2 separate regions of the Homo sapiens genome follow, and region 2 is linked to region 1. The links are contacts of gene promoters, found by promoter capture Hi-C in blood cells and fetal thymus (Javierre and others, 2016). All regions are on one chromosome and are shown on one strand. Each heading gives the region's core, a stretch centred on a gene start or on the middle of the fragment in contact. The rest is flanking DNA. Distances are from core to core; before and after follow the strand shown.

Evidence for each region. The method cuts DNA at HindIII sites, captures the fragments that hold promoters and counts their contacts. A CHiCAGO score of 5 or more calls a contact.
Region 2: a fragment that was not itself captured here is called in contact with the fragment with the promoter of NDUFA10 in region 1 in 1 of 17 cell types (total B cells); the score reaches 5.2 in total B cells.

What each region holds. Positions count from the first base shown.
Region 1 is chr2:240,023,410-240,027,204 of GRCh38, forward strand. NDUFA10 (NADH:ubiquinone oxidoreductase subunit A10) reads right to left here and starts at 1,933. Exons shown (of 10, transcript NM_004544.4): 1 at 1,818-1,933. The coding sequence starts at 1,892. RefSeq lists a silencer at 1,860-2,119 and an enhancer at 1,928-2,757. The HindIII fragment of the contact is 3,872 bases long and covers 1-3,214 here.
Region 2 is chr2:237,078,225-237,082,019 of GRCh38, forward strand. All of the region lies in intron 1 of COPS8-DT (COPS8 divergent transcript), which reads right to left. Among named protein-coding and RNA genes, the nearest start is that of COPS8-DT, 5.7 kb to the right of the region's middle. The HindIII fragment of the contact is 6,185 bases long and covers 1-3,795 here.

The DNA of each region.
Region 1 (3,795 bases), core at 683-3,182:
TTAAAAAATGATTACAGAGTTAGGACAAGACAATGAGTACCATCCTAAACTGCTAATGGTAATGAAACCTAGAGGACGCTGGGTCTACAGCATTAGGAATCCATTCAAAGAGTATATACATAAGATTGACCTATAAGGATGCTCAATGAAGTATGATGTAACACCAAAAATGCAAATAGAAACCCTTAAATGTCCAACAACGGAGGAATAGTTAAACAAAATTAAGGCATATCCATATTATGGAATACTAAGTACTCAGAAAAACACAAAAATATTAAAATACTTTATAGTGAAATTTAAATAAAACAGGAGAATATGAAATATCAAGATATTTTTCGATCTTGATTTGATAACTGAAGAGTAAGGAAGAAACAAGTTACAAAACAAGGCAAAGCAGACAACCCAATTTAAAAATGGGCAAAAGATGTAAACACCTCTCGCAAATGAAATTAACGCAGATAGCAAATAAGTATATGAAAAGATGAACACTGTATATCATGAGATATTCCAAAGTTGAAACAAGATACCACTACGCAGCTATCAGAATGGATAGCAATCCAAAGTAACCGACAGCCCCGCATGCTGGCGAGCACGCAGAGCAACAAGGAGAGCCTTCACTTCTGGTGGGAGTCAAATGGCACAGTCACTCTGGAAGATGGCTTGGCAGCTTCTTAGAAAACTAGTCTTACTACATGAGTAATCGCTCTTCCAGGTATTACCCAAATGATATAAAAATGTATTTCCAAAAAGAAATCTGCATGTACACGATTACAGCAGCTTTATTCATAATTGCCAAAAACTTGAAGCAACCAAGATGCCCTTCAATTGCTGAATGAATTGAAGTACATCCATGCAATGAGATATTACTCAGTGATTAAAAAGAAATGAGTTACCAAGCCACGAAGACATAAGTGAATCTTACATAGATATTTCCAAGTATTCAAGGCGTCTGAAAAGGCAATATATTGTATGATTCTAATTATATGACATTCCAGAAAAGGCAACTATGGAAATGTTAATGAGATCTGTGGTTGTCAGGGGTTGGAGAAAAAGAAGGGTTTAATAGGTAAAGCAGAGGGGAATTTTTTAAGGCAGTGAAGCTACTCTGTACGAACCTATAATGGTGGAGACATGCTATTACACACGTGTCAAAACCTATAGAACCTTATAGCACAAAGAAAAAATCCATAGAACCTTATAGCACAAAGAATGCGCTCAATGTATGCACATTTTAAAAAACGCATTAGGTAGAAGGATCCCAAGATGTAAGGCAGAATGTGACAAAGCAATCCAACTGTGTTACAAATGTATGAAACGATTTCACTGAAGAAGGTGGGGGCAAAATGCTAAGAAATGAGAGTAGTCAGTCAGAGTAAAGGCAAAAGGAAGCGGACACAAGCACTGAACTCCGTGTCTGCTCAACATGGCATCACCCAAGCACCCAGCAGGGCCCGACCTTTAAACGGCTCTTGACAGGGCTGCTACGTGAATTATCTAATGACAAGCGCGTGTGCCCCCGGCCTGCCACCTGCACACGGGCCTCCCGCATCAGGGCAGCCTCGGGGCCCTGATCACCTCCGCGCTCCAGCGTTTTGCTTAAAGCTGAGATAAAATGGCCTGGAGAAGCTCGTGGCCCCCTGAGGTCTGTCCACGACCAAAGACCAAACAATTCCGGAGGCAGGAGGGGTCCCCCAAACCCACCCGGAGAGCGACCTGGGAGCCGCCGCCAGAGGCCGGGGGAGATGTGGAACTGCTCCCCACCCCGCCACCCCGCCACCCTGCCACCCCGCCACCCTGCCACCCCGCCGCCCGCTCACCACGCGCTGGGCGCCCGCCGCCACGACCCGGGCGGACGCGGACGTCGCTGCCAGCTTCAGGAGCCGCAAGGCCATGGCTACCCGGTCAGCTCAGGATCAAGGACCCAAGGGGACGCGGTCGCGACGGGGCCCTCTCTCGCGGCCGGCGCGCTGCCGTGACGTCACGGCCGGGGTGCCCGCGGCGCCTGTCGGGAACCTTCCAGGGGGCGGGGCCGCGCCGAGGCCCTCGGGGGCTTCCGCGGAGACAGCCAGTGCGCTGCCAGGGTCCTGCGGGTTGGGGCGAGGGCCGAGAGGTGGGAGTTGGAGGTGAACGTGGGGGCAGCATGCTGGCTGCCCGGCCCCTGCCTGGGTTCTGAGTTGCTGCGGTGTCGCGGGAGCTGAGGCCGCCCAGGGCGTGGAGCGACTTCTGCGTCTCGTCCCAGGGTCCTGTGCTCCCCGCAGAATCCCCCAGGCGCGGTGTGGACGTCAAAGCGACCTCCTAGAGAACATTCCTAGCTCTCAGAACGTTCTCGCTGGGGAGGGAAAGTGGAAAAAGAGGGGGCGAGGAGCGGAGGGACGGGGTGGGACCCCTGTCGCGGGGCGCCTGTCAGGGAGAGGGACCTGGCAAGGCCGGCCTGGGTCGCCTCCGGAGCTGAAGGCTAAGTGGTCTCATCCAGGGGACCTGCTGTGAACACATTGAATAGCATAGAAAACAAAAGCACACGCTCCAAGTCCATCTCTTTTTTTTTTTTTTTTTTTTTTTTTTTTTTTTTTTTTTTTTGAGGCAGAGTCCCGCTCTGTCGCCCAGGCTGGAGTGCGGTGGCGCCATCGCGCTCACTGCAAGCTCCGCCTCCCTGGTTCACGCCATTCTCCTGCCTCAGCCTCCCGAGTAGCTGGGACTACAGGCGCCCGCCGCCACACCCGGCTAATTTTTTGTATTTTTAGTAGAGACGGGGTTTCACCATGTTAGCCAGGATGGTCTCGATCTCCTGACCTCGTGATCCACCCGCCTCGGCCTCCCAAAGTGCTAGGATTACAGGCGTGAGCCACCGCGCCGGCAAGTCCATCTCTTAAAATGTGCTCCCGTCAGGACCTGGGCTCTGGGCTCCACGAAGGAGCCTTGCATGTGAGGTTTCCTTCCAAGTATGCCTGCTGTTGGGAAGGGTTTTTATAATCTTTTGTGTTCCCCAGGCTTTTTGTTCTTAACCCCTTAAATATTCTTTAACTTTGTTTTCAACTTTTCAGAAATGATCATGCGATTGTAAAACAGTGGGAATGCAGCTGTGTAAACTACGGCCGGTTCTATGGATGTTTCTATAATTGAAGAATTGCTTTTTGTCAAAAATACGGATTCCCGGTCCCCAACGCAGGAGGGTCTGGTTTTTAGATCCTGGAGGGCACCTGAAATCCATTTAACAAGCTTTAGGGTTCATGTCTGCTGTTTTTTGCCTTGTTTCCTTTGCATTTTTTTTTTTTTTTTTTTTTTGTGCCTTCCAATGGATACAGTACATTTTTTTAGAATTCCATCTTGATTTACTGATAATGTCTTGGGAAATATCATTATGTATAGTTTTCGTAGTGGTTCCTCTAGGTATCACAGCACGCAGACGTAACTTCTCACAACCTGTTTGCGTGGATGTTTTGTTGTACCTGAGCGAGTTAGAAAAACACCACCTTTGAGACGAATTAAGAGTCCTTTATTAGCTGGCGACCGAGAGACGGCTAACGCTCAAAATTCTCTCAGCCCCGAGGAAGGGGCTTGATTAACTTTTATACCTTGGTTTAGGAAGGGGGGGGGGTCTAGTTAAAACAATTTTACAGAAGTAAAGTAGTCAAAAAGTTAAAAGGGTAAATGGTTACAGGAAAGTAAACAGTTCAAGGTGCAGGGGCTTTAAGACTATTACAAGATGATAGACCCGGGGCTTTGGGCGTTATCAATCGGACAAATTCCTGGGAACTGCGGATGTAGCTTGCCACAGTATCTTACCAGTTAATTGCA
Region 2 (3,795 bases), core at 848-3,347, 2.9 Mb before region 1:
GTTCTTTGTTTTCAAGACTGTTTTGGGGTATTCTGCATTCCTTAAGTTTGTATATGAATTTTAGGATCAGCTTGTGAATTTTAGTATTGCAATCATAATATAAAGTCTCCCAATCCATGAACAAGGGATGTCTTCCATTTACCTAGGTCTTTAATTTTCTTCAACATTGTTGAGTAGTTTTCAGAGTTTAAGTTTTACACTTCTTTTATTATATTTATTTCTAAGTATTTTATTCTTTTTCATACTATTACAGGTGATATGGTTTGGCTGTGTTCCCCACCCAAATCTCATCTTCAGTTGTAGTTCCCATTATCCCCATGTGTCATGGGAGGGACCTGGGGGGAGGTAACTGAATCATGGGGGCAGTTACCTCCATGCTGTTCTTGTGATAGTGAGTGAGTTCTCAAGGTATCTGATGGTTTTTCTTTTGCTGTTGTTTTATTTGTTTGTTTTTTGAGGAGTCTCACTCTGTTGCCCAGGCTGGAGTGCACTGCAACCTCTGCCTCGCGGGTTCAAGTGATTCTGGTGCCTCAGCCTCCCGAGTAGCTGGGAATACGGGCGTGTGCCACCACGCCCAGCTAATTTTTTTTGTATTTTTAGTAGAGACAGGGGTTTCGCCATGTTGGCCAGGATTTTCTCGAACTCCTGACCTCAGGTGATCTGCCGGCCTCAGCCTCCCAAAGTGCTGGGATTACAGGTGTGAGCCACTGTGCCCAGCCATCTGATGGTTTTAGAGGCAGTTTTCCCTGCTCTTGCTCTTGCTGTCTCTTTCCCGCTGCCGTGTGAAGGTCTGCGCTTCCTTTTCACCTTCCACCATGATTGTAAGTTTCCTGAGGTCTCCCAGGTGTGCAGAACTAAGTCATTTAAACCTCTTTATAAATTACCCAGTTTTGGGTAGTTCTTTATATTAATAGTAGTGTGAGAATGGACTAATATAACAGGTGAAATTGTTTTCTTAATTTCATATTTGGCTTATTCATTGCTAATATACAGAAATAAAATTGATATTTGCATGTTGATTTTGTATCCTGCAACCTCGCTGGACCCAATACTATGTCAATCAAGGAAAATGACCAAAGCAAGTCTCAATCATTTTAAGGAGGTGTATTTGCCAAAGTTAAGGGTGTGCCTGGGAGACATGTCTATGCCTTTTTCGAGAGATGATTTTGAGAGCTTCAATGTTTAAAGGGGAAAGTGTGGGATATTGAGAAATGCACAATTTTCATGTTGCGGGGGAGGAAAAGAGTCATTCGTGTCTTTGGCTCTGTGAATATGCATTTTTACTTAAGATAACACAGAGGATAGGGGAGAGGAAAAAATCAGATATGCATTTGTTTCAGGTGGGCAGAGGGATCGCTTTGAGTTATGCCCTATGTCCCCGCACCTGTGAAGATAAGCTATTAATTTACATTGCCATGGTGAACTTTAACATAAATGCTTTAGGGTAAAGATCTTGGGGCCCACAGGGGAGGTGTGTAGCTTTTCACGTGTGTAGCCATCTTATTTAGGAACCAAAATGGGAGGCAGGCTTGCATGACCCACTTCCCAGCCTGACTTTTCCCTTTGGCTTAGTAAGTTTAGGATACCAAGATTTATTTTCCTTTCACAATTAGTTCTACCTGTTTTTTTTTCTTTTTTGATGAATTTCTTATATACAAGATCATGTCATCTTTAATAGATATAGCTTTACTACTTCCTTTCCAATTTGGATGCTTTCCATTTATTTTTCTTCCCTAATTGCACTGGATAGAACCTGTAGTACACTGTTAAATAAAAATGGCAAAAGCTGACATTCTTGTCTTCCTCCTGATCATAGAGAAAAGCCATCAGTCATTGACCATTAAATGTAATGTTAACTGCAGGTTTTATATAGGTGTCTTTTGTCAGTTTGAAGACGTTCCCTTCTCTCCCTAGTTCAGTAAGTGTTTTTATTATAAAAGGAGGTTGGATTTTGTTTTATATATGTATTCTGCATCTATTGAGATGAACGTGTGTTTTGATCCATTATTCTGTTGATATGGCTTATTACACTGATTGGTTTTTGGATGCCAGAGCCATTACTCTGGCACATGGCAGGAATGGTAGCCTCTGATCTTCTCAGCTTTTCTACTGGACACAGAATATATGTTTACCCCAGAAAGCAAGCTGGAGTGAGGGCAATTAGGACCCCTGTATTCCAGACCTGTTATGCCTAGTGTATAGTCTCCATCCATGAGTGGGAGCTTGGTGGAGGAAGGGAGCCTCCTGCCTCTTGGCCACAGTTAGCTAGAATTTAGCGTTAAACTTGGAGTTGGAGTGGATGAGAAATGCTTGCAACCTTCGCCTTCTTGTGAGACACCTTATCCCTTGTTTGATAGAGGAAGGGAGAGTGAGCCCCATCTTCTTGACCACATCCACCCACAGTGGAGCTTCTATGAAGCTGAGCTAGGTGCGGGGCTGGAAAGAGCAGATTATGGCTCAAATGCCACACACTCTCTCTGTTCTTACCAAGTTGTGATAGATTTTATTGAATAAATTTTTTTTTCATTTTTTATATACCTTTAAGATAATTTCCAGAAACTTTTAAGTTTTCTTAGAAATTTTCTCCAGCTATGGTTGTTTCAGTGGGAAGTGTCTCCACAGAAGTGGAACTCCCCTTCGTGCACTTTTTAAACTCTAGGGGTGGTAATGATGTCAACTATTGTGAGCCCTGGGGTACTATCCTTTGTAGTTTTCCAGTATCTTGCCAATACCTTTGTAAATAGCCATTTTATTAAATTTTCCTCAAATTGCCCAATCTGAGATATGGTTTGGCTCTGTGTCCCCACCCAAATCTCATCTCGAATTGTAATCCCCATGTGTCAAGGGAGGGAGGTGATTGGATCACGGGGGCAGTTCCTCCCATGCTGTTCTCATGATAGTGAGTTCTTATGAGATCTGACGGTTTCGGGGTTTTTCTGTGTGTGTGTGTGTTTGTTTTTGAGATGGAGTCTCACTCTGTTGCCCAGGCTGGAGTGCAGTGGTGCGATCTTGGCTCACTGCAACCTCCACCTCCCAGGTTCCAGGGATTCTCCTGCCTCAGCCTCCTGAGTAGCTGGGACTACAGGTGTGTGCCACCACACCCAGCCAATTTTGTATTTTTTTGGATTTCATCATGTTAGCCAGGATGGTCTCGATCTCCTGACCTCATGATCCGCCCACCTTGGCCTCCCAAAGTGCTGGGATTACAGGCGTGAGCCACCGCGCCCGGCCGAGATCTGACGGTTTTATAAGTGTTTGAGAATTCCTCCTTTGCTCTTCTCTCACCTGCCTCCATGTAAGATGTACCTGATTCCCCTTCTGCCATGATTGTAAGTTTCCTGAGGCCTCCTCAGCCATGTTGAACTGTGAGTCAATCAAACGTCTTTCCTTTATAAATTACCCAGTCTTGGGTATTTCTTTACAGCAGTGTGAAAACAGATGAATACACTGAGTATTCCATATGTTTCCTGCTACAATCCAGACCGACACAATGGGAGTGTTGTGGGCACAGAGGTGACCCGGGCTCATCATCCGTTCTCCTCTCCCACTCTTTCTCCCACACTGGCCGACTCATCCACATCCCAGAGCTTCAAGAGCAGGTTCATGGGCCAAAGAGCCCCAGGAAGGGAGATGGGCCACTTGATGAATGCTTGCTGTGGTTTCTTCACGACATGAATCAGACAGATCATGTGGTCCTAGACCCAGCCATGGAAACTGTGATCCCGAAGCAAATGGGCAACCAGTGTGAAACTGGCGGGAGCACACCTGAGGCCCTTGTGACATCACTTCTTCAGG